Regions from separate parts of the Homo sapiens genome. Here region 2 is linked to region 1. The links are contacts of gene promoters, found by promoter capture Hi-C in blood cells and fetal thymus (Javierre and others, 2016). All regions are on one chromosome and are shown on one strand. The core of a region is centred on a gene start or on the middle of the fragment in contact, and the rest is flanking DNA. Distances in the headings are between cores, read along the strand shown.

Region 1 (3,944 bases), core at 1-2,500:
GAGCACCAGCAGCAGTGCATAGCCCGCGCACAACACCAGCGCCTTCCTACGGAACACCTTCATTCCGAGAGGGGACGCGGGCCAGCGGCGTCCTGGGCGCCGGGGCCACTGCGGGAGCAGGGCACGCGGCGCGGCTGCAGGCGCAGCCTGGAGCAGCCGAGGGAGCGCGCCCGGGGGCAGAGCTCGCTGCGGGCTGCGGCTCATCACAGGCACAATCCGGGCCGGCGGCGCGGCGGAGGCAGCCCTGCAGCCCGGGAAGGGGACGCAGCGGGCTGGCTGCTGGCGCCGGGACTCGGGCCGCGACTCCGAGGCGGGCGCGGCGGCTGGTCCCCAGCGCCCAAGGCTGGCTCTCCCATGGCAGCGGCTCCGGGTAGGACCTGCGAGGGGAAGCGGAGTGAGCGGATGCGCCCCAATCTCCCTCCCAGCCTCCTCCTCCTAAGTAACGCCCACCCTCGGTTCTGCCCGGTTCCTCCGCTCACCTGGAGCCGAGGGCGCGCCCGGGAGCGGCCCCGGATCACCGCCCGGCGGACTGTCCGGCTGTCACTCGTTCCTCGATTTCGCTCCCTCTCGCTTCCGCTGGGGGTCCCCGCACCTTCGAGGGGTCTGGGGAGTCGGCCGACTTATCCCTGGGCAGTTTCCGGGCAGCGGGCGCCCTGCGGCTCGGGAAGAAAAACTTTCACGCGGCCCAGAGCCCCGCTCCGCGCTCCGCCGAACCCGGCGCCTCCCGGCTCCAGCGACGTCTCCTCCGCTTTCTCGGGACCGCAGCTTCCTGTCTCGCTCAGGGGAACGAAGCCGGCTGGGGGCGATGGCTGGGGGCGGCTTATATGGGACTCAGCTCCCGGCATAGCGGCGCAGCCCCTCTCGCTTTCGGCCTCCGTGCGGCGAATTTTCCCACCTCTCTGGCAGCGGTGGATGGGGCACAGCGCGACCCCGCAGCGGCGGCGGCGGCTGCTTCCATCACCGGGAGGATGCCCGGGCGGACAGCGCAGGCAACCCCCGCCGCTCCGCAGCCTCCGACTGGACCAAAGGACCCCGAACACACAGCTCTAGGCAAGGAAACCCAGGTGTGCAGCACTGCCCGACCCGACCCAACCCGCCCCCGGTACCAGCGCTTCTGGCCAACGAGGTATTTAAGCAAAGAAAGACCCCGCCGCAGCCGCCGCCGCCGCGCGAAAGCGGCGCCCAGGAGGATGCTGCTACCCGACTCCCCTTACGCCGGGCGCCCGCAACGCGCTCGGACCAGCCTCTGCGCGGCTCCTGCCAGCCGGCGCCCGGTTGGTGCGCGCCGCCGTCTGTCGCCGCGGCTCCTCCCCTCCGCCGCGCAGCCCTCCCCCTTCGCCGGCCCCGCCCCCGCCCCCAACGCCGAGCCGGCTCCCACCGTCGCTGCGCCTCGGGGGCTGGAGACGCGACCCGCTTTACCGCGACGCGCGGGGGCTGCAGTCCACGGGTCCGAAGGCTTAGCTCTGCGCGCAAAGCGCCGGGATGCGAACGCGGGATCTGGAGCTCGTCGGTGCCGAGAGCTGCCAGAGAGTTGGATTCTGCGTGCAGCTGCCGGACTCGGCCCCATGTTTTTGCTCTCAGAAAGAGTTGGTGATGAAGTTTGGGCAGAAATCCCCTGTCGGCCGTCCGCTCCACGCTTCCCTCGGGGCCGACACTGCCAACCTCTCCGGGCACTGAGGACACCTCTGCGCCCTGGAGCGGTGGGAGGACGCGGAGCGCCGTTCTCTGGCTTCCGACACCCTGCCCGCCCTCTCTAGTGGGTCTGTGGCTGCGCCCTCTCGAAGGAAGTAATAAATCTTTCTGACCTTGGGGGTCAGAGGAGACGCTTCAGTTTTCCGGAGGGGTGTGCGGGCGGGACCGTCTTTCCGCTTTACTGGACCTCTGGCCGGGGCTGCTCTTGTTTCATTGTGCCCCACATGCGGAGCCCCGATGCTCTCCGCATTTCCGCTCGCGGTGCTGCGTCCACTGTGATTGACGTCCTCTGGAATTGGGGTGATGGGGGAGGGGAACGCCCCGTTCTAATTTGCAGAAAAATACTTGTCCCGCTTCTTGGTTTTGTAGATGAGATCAAAGAACTTGACCCCAAAGGAAACACCGTTGTTGAAAGAAAATCATTTTTCAGTTGCTTTAGGTTTAAGTACTTTTGTTTAAGGTTATGAGGAAAAGCGTCTCTCTCTCCCCCCAACTCCCTCCCTCCCCAAGAACACTAAGCTGTAGCCTCAACTTCATCTGTAGAATGGGGACAGTTGTAACAGCCTCCGGAGACTGAACGGTGGTTGAGTATCAGAGCGCGCACACGAAAGGTTAGACCTGAGTTCAGGCCTCCAAGTGCCGAAAAGGGAATCTCCGTGGGGCCTGAGGCTCAGCACCCTCGGATAAACAGAGCTCTCGCTGATCCGGAGTTTTGTTGCCTCCTGTCCCAGTAGAGTTTTTAGAAGTTACTGCACAATTATCTTTGTAGCGTTTCGGGCAGACTTTTCAGAGGACCGTTCTAACATTAAAATATTGCTGTTTGCGCCATTATTCTTCCATGAGTCTTACAGAATCCCCTGAGTACAAAGACTTGAAAAGTGACTTAACTCGCTTTCCACGGGTTTTTAACTCTCTTACGGATTTAGTTTCAGGGGAGAAAAATGTTCAAAAAACTTATTTATCCTTGTTTTCCAGAAAAACCCATAATGTCACGAGTACAGTTCAGCTTATTTTTTCTCCTGGGGAGGGGGATTGGGACAAGGACAGCAGAGCTCAAATTTTATATCCAGCTTTCTCAAATAATATGGCATTGCCTCTGGAAGTGGGTCGAGACAGGCAAGAATCCCTGTTAACAGATGAAGGTGGTAGAGTTTAATTGAGCGACTCCCCATCTTTTCCTTTTCTGGAATCCCCAGCCTCCCTTCGCCTACTCTCTCAAATGCCCCTGCCCCTTTTTCACCACCTCTTTTACCACGAAAACTAAAATGACATTGGTGCATGAAAAGACTGATGGGAGAGAGAGGGAATTGGGGAGGAAAGTAAATCTCAATTTTAATATTCAACATGATTCCAAGAAAAATAATTTCTAATATTTTTCATTTAGTTTCTGGCTTTGTGCTTACCCAGAAAAAAACTGAATTGCATTAGTCGATGTAGGGACCCTTTTTAAAAACAATTGTTTGCATAGAAATAATTCCGTTTGCAATTTTGTAACACTTTACTGGTGTTGGCAAAATAGTAAATCCATTTGCCAGGTGCCCCCACAGTGCTCAGCTGGCATAAATTTACGGGTTCTGGCATCTCCACCCTCTCCTTGCTTGCAAATTTTTCCCATTTTGCATGGTGTCATGATTAATTCTGAACTTTGTTATAGCTAATGACATCTGAAAACTTCATAATGCCTTCCTTCCCGCATTTGTTTGGAAATTCCTTTCATTTTAATCTACTTATTTTAGCATAGTAATGACCCAGACATATAATATGTCACATAATAATGTCACTTGCACAAGAGCCAGTCATGCCACAGGGCTAGCCTTAATTTCGGCTCACTGGTTTAGTTTGTCACAATTCCATCTCCCCCAGGATGCTCTTTCAGTCTCTGTCTTCTCTGCTGCCTGTTATGTTCTATTGGAAACTGTCAGGCCTCTGAGCCAAAGCTAAGCCATCATATCCCCTGTGACCTGCATGTACACATCCAGATGGCTGGTCCTTGCCTTAACTGATGACATTCCACTACAAAAGAAGTGAAAATGGCAGGTCCTGCCTTAACTGATGACATTACCTTGTGAAATTCCTTCTCCTGGCTCATCCTGGCTCAAAAAGCTCCCCCACTGAGCACCTTGTGATCCCCCCCTCCACACCTGCCCACCAGAGAACAACCCCCTTTGACTGTAATTTTCCTTTACCTGCCCAAATCCTATAAAACGGCCCCACGCCTATCTCCCTTCACTGACTCTCTTTTCGGACTCAGC
Region 2 (4,195 bases), core at 1,282-3,781, 310 kb before region 1:
CAATTTAACACCTAGTTTCTGTCATCGAATGATTTTCAATATATTTGCAGACAGAACTGTATTCACATGTCTGCATACCATTGCACACTTTAGTTCACGAGCCACCTTGAGAAAGATGCTAGGACTTGAGCTGTAAACATTGCCTAAATTAAGGGAAATTTAGTGTTTGGGGGGTATTATTATACAGTGCTACTATGTGCCATATACTTTACTTTTCATCTTATTGTGTCCATTTTAAAGATAAGGACACTGAGACCCAGAGAGATGAAGTTAAGAGGTAGGTGACAGAGCCAGGAAAGCTTCATCCAAACCACAGCGCCCCCTAGAGAGGTAGACAGTGAAAGGCAAGTCTTCCTCATAAAAACCTGGCATGCAAAGGTATAGAAGATATAGGTTATCTATACTTCAAAACCATCAGAATTCGAAAGGTTTCATATGCACCTTCCAGCTTACTTTCCAGTTGGTTCTAATAAAGTTTTCTGAGACTCCTTTCTGAAAGATTCTGCTGCTGTCAGGAATCTGCATATTTCCTCAAGATTTGGAGCTGGGTAGGACAAGATAGAAACACGAATAGAACATAAGTTAATTGCTTTCTGGAGTATGTTTCAGAGTCAGTGTATTTCCCATGGTGTTCTGTATGCCTGCCTCCTGGGCTTAAAGGGTTAACAGAACACCCCCACCTTTTATAATATCACCAGATCTCGATTAATCTGGCAAATGCTATAAATCAAGGGACAGTGTGAAATTGAACACTAAATGTATTGGACGTTATTATAAAAAGAGAAATTGGATAATTTCTACTCATTTCTATCTGAAAATGAAAAACTGCCAGGGTAATGAATCTCCTTGATCTGCTGAAGTGCTTATCAGTTACAAAGTACTTTTCCACTGAAGAGATAAGCAGAGTCAAAACACACAAAAAAATCACAATTTTTTGAATGAAAATAAATCTTCATGCTGTTTGTGGGATAAATTCCCCCCAAAGAACCCAGCAACCATCTCTTTTAAAAAGCTTCAAAGTCGATAGGATTTCTTATTGCCCTGAAACACGTCAGGAAACTAAAGAAAACTTTGTTACATGAACTGTCCACCCTTCCATGAAATCAAGAGCAAACTTATCAAGATTGATTTCTGTCATCAAGTGCAGTTAGATTTGCATAAAAGGGTTGGCCAAAAAGATATATCTAAATAACCTTTCATTGTTAAGGCTAACCTCCCTTTCACTGTTAAGTTCAAAGGAAGGAAAGTTCTTTGAAACACCACCAGGGCTGATTGGTGCTGCTGGTCTAATCAGAGCATGTTTTGAGTCCAAAGGTAAGAAATGCCTTCAGTTGGAATAAAATGCAGGCAAGAGGCCAGGCGCAGTAGCTTATGCCTGTAATCCCAGCACTTTGGAAGGCCAAGGTGGGGGGATCATGAGGTCAGGAGATCAAGACCATCCTAGCTAACATGGTGAAACCCTATCTCTACTAAAAATACAAAAATTAGCCGGGTGTGGGGGTATATACCTGTAGTCCGAGCTACTTGGGAGTCTGAGGCAGGAGAATCGCTTGAACCTGGGAGGCGGAGGTTGCAGTGAGCCAAGATCACGCCACTGCACTCCAGCCTGGCAACAGAATGAGACTCCGTCTCAAAAAAATAATGTGGGCAAGATCAGCCAGGTGGCCACCATTCTAGGGGGAAGAGAGCCCTTCAAATACTGATTCCAGGGCAGCCTGCTTGTTTTAACAACCTTTTCTCGGTAAAGCTCTCCAAACCCTGGAACTGTTCCAGTTTTCCTTTTCTGCATGAAGTAGGAATGTGATTGTAATGAGATAGTTTTTCAGAAATCAGTGTTGCAGTTCTCATTTTTCCTGTATTTGATAATACTTGCCCTGTGCCTATTAATGAGCCTAGTCTAGTTGAGGTAACTGGAATGGGCAAAGAGTTTACTGCACTGAGAACCTTTCCAGGGCCTGTTCCCACTACATACATCATCAGGAGCTGAGAGAGTTTAGAACATAGTAATTACCCGGTGTGTAGTCATCTTATACAAATCAATTTATTCACACACTTAACAAATACATGTGTGCCAAGCACTGTTCTGAGCATTTGAAATAAACAAAAATGCCTGTGCTCAGGGTGTTTTCATTTTGGCAAGAGAAAATAAGCCGTGAGAAATTAGCTTAACAAATGGGCAAATTATATAGTATATCAGGTGATAAGTGGTACAGAAAAAAAAATTGAGCAGAGGAAGAGAGAATGGAGGCTGGGTTATAGGGATGGGATTGGGCTGTGATTTGAATTAGGTAGTCCAAGTAGGCCTCACTGAGAAGTTATCTCTTGAGTAAAGACTGGGAGGAGGAAGAGCATTTTAGCAGTGGCAATAGCTTATGCAAAGACTGTAAGGTGAGATGTACCTGGCAAATTGGAGGAACATCAAGTGGGCCAGTGAGGCTGAAGGGTGAGCATGTAGGAGAGTAGGAGGGGCTGAGTTTAGAGAAGTAAGAGGGGTGGGAAGATCATACAGGGCCTTATAAGCCATTGTAAGGACTCGGCCTTTCACTTTAAGAATTGGGTCACGAGGTCGGGAGATCAAGACCATCCTGGCTAACACGGTAAAACCCCATATCTATTAAAAATACAAAAAATTAGCCGGGCATGGTGGCGGGTGCCTGTAGTCCAGCCACTCAGGAGGCTGAGGCAGGAGAATGGCCTGAACCTGGGAGGCGGAGCTTGCAGGGAGCCAAGATTGCACCACTGTACTCCAGCCTGGGTGACAGAGCGAGACTCCATCGCAAAAAAAAAAAAAAAGGTGGGGGCAGCTACTGGAGGATTTCGCAACAAGGGATGTGATCTAACTGGCAATTTGAAAGAACTCCTCTGCTGTCTTGAGAATACACTGTATTCTACAGGGAGGCAAAGGTAGGGGCTGAGAGTTGAATTAAGAGATGACTGCAGGAATCTGGGAAAATCAACAAATAATTCATGGTTCTATGTGCTATAGTGGCATAAACGAAGCTGGAGCTCAAAGCACTGTGTGCAACTAGTTCTTCCAGGGAAGGCTTCCCAGGGCTGTGACTTGTGAATTGAAGGAAAGGGACTTAGAGAAGGAAGGCAGATGGCAGGAGGTGAGATGAGAAAGATTTAGGGGCACCAGACTGTGAAAGGCCTTGAGTACCACCAGGACTGATGCCTTTTATAAAGCCAAGAAAATGCCCAACTATGTGGCCTAAACAAATAGGTTCTTATTTTTCTCATGTATTAGGAAACCTAGAGGAAGCAGTCCAAAACTAGTGGATAAAATCAGTGATGAGGCTCTTTTTGTCATCCTTGTTGTAATGGCTTGTGCTGGTTCTAAAGAGTGCTGCTGTGTATCCATGTTGTGGGAAGGAAAAAGGAAGAGAGCAGCATGTCAGGTGAATCTAGCTCTCCCTTTTTTAAATTGGGAAAGCAAATCTCCTAGAAACCCTACCCAACAGACTTCAGCTTGAGTCTGCCTAGCCCAACTGGGTCACGTGACCATGCCCACCTGGAAGGTGGCTCAGCTGAAAGGGTGGTGGATATGGTGTATGTCAGCTAACCAACAGTGCCAACACAAATTCTTAAATCTATCCAATGTGAGTGAAGATGATGCTTCCCCCAGAGGGCCACATGCAGCTTCATTGGCCTCCCCCTCTCAGATCTGGGCTCAGCAAAAGAACAGCTGCTGAAGCACCCACTCTCCACTATGGCTATCACTGCCCTGCCCCTTCCACAGGGCCCCAGGTAGACTAGCTAGGGCCTCCAAGTCCCGCCTTTCCTGCATGCCTGTGAACATCACTGATTCAACAGTAGGGACCAGGCCCTATGCCAGCAATGGAATCTGCCTCTCCATAAGAGAAAGGTGTGTGTGAGTGTATGTAACCCTCAGAATTTCCTTGGGACTCTGGCAGTCACTTCTGTTTTGTCAAAAGAGGTTTCTATCCTCCCCTTCCAAGTGATAAAGCATTAAGACACACAGGCTGGGGGATGGGGTCAGAACTTGTGGCTGTGCATTAATGAGCCCCACTGGGAGTCAGCAAAGCTTGACTTTGGTGGTCACAACCTGTTTTCCTTGATCCCAGGTGCCTATCTCTCTTCACCCTCTTTCCAAATCTGTTCTCCAAAAGGTTCTGATGAAGTCATTAACTTTGAAGTGTAAACAACTGATAAGACTGAAAATGCCCTCTCCCCT

The links. The method cuts DNA at HindIII sites, captures the fragments that hold promoters and counts their contacts. A CHiCAGO score of 5 or more calls a contact.
Region 2: a contact is called between a fragment that was not itself captured here and the fragment with the promoter of CHST2 in region 1, in 1 of 17 cell types (fetal thymus). The highest score is 5.2, in fetal thymus.

Annotation. Positions count from the first base shown.
Region 1 is chr3:143,117,077-143,121,020 of GRCh38, reverse strand. CHST2 (carbohydrate sulfotransferase 2) reads right to left here and starts at 1,250. Exons shown (of 2, transcript NM_004267.5): 1 at 480-1,250; 2 at 1-377. The coding sequence starts at 204. RefSeq lists silencers at 1-67, 128-327, 388-467, 518-567, 598-647 and 1 more and enhancers at 1-534, 858-907, 1,193-1,692, 1,888-2,017, 1,693-2,194. The HindIII fragment of the contact is 4,891 bases long and covers 1-3,944 here.
Region 2 is chr3:143,430,084-143,434,278 of GRCh38, reverse strand. The region is part of intron 12 of SLC9A9 (solute carrier family 9 member A9); the gene reads left to right. Among named protein-coding and RNA genes, the nearest start is that of SLC9A9-AS1, 90 kb to the right of the region's middle. RefSeq lists an enhancer at 3,858-4,195. The HindIII fragment of the contact is 3,033 bases long and covers 1,015-4,047 here.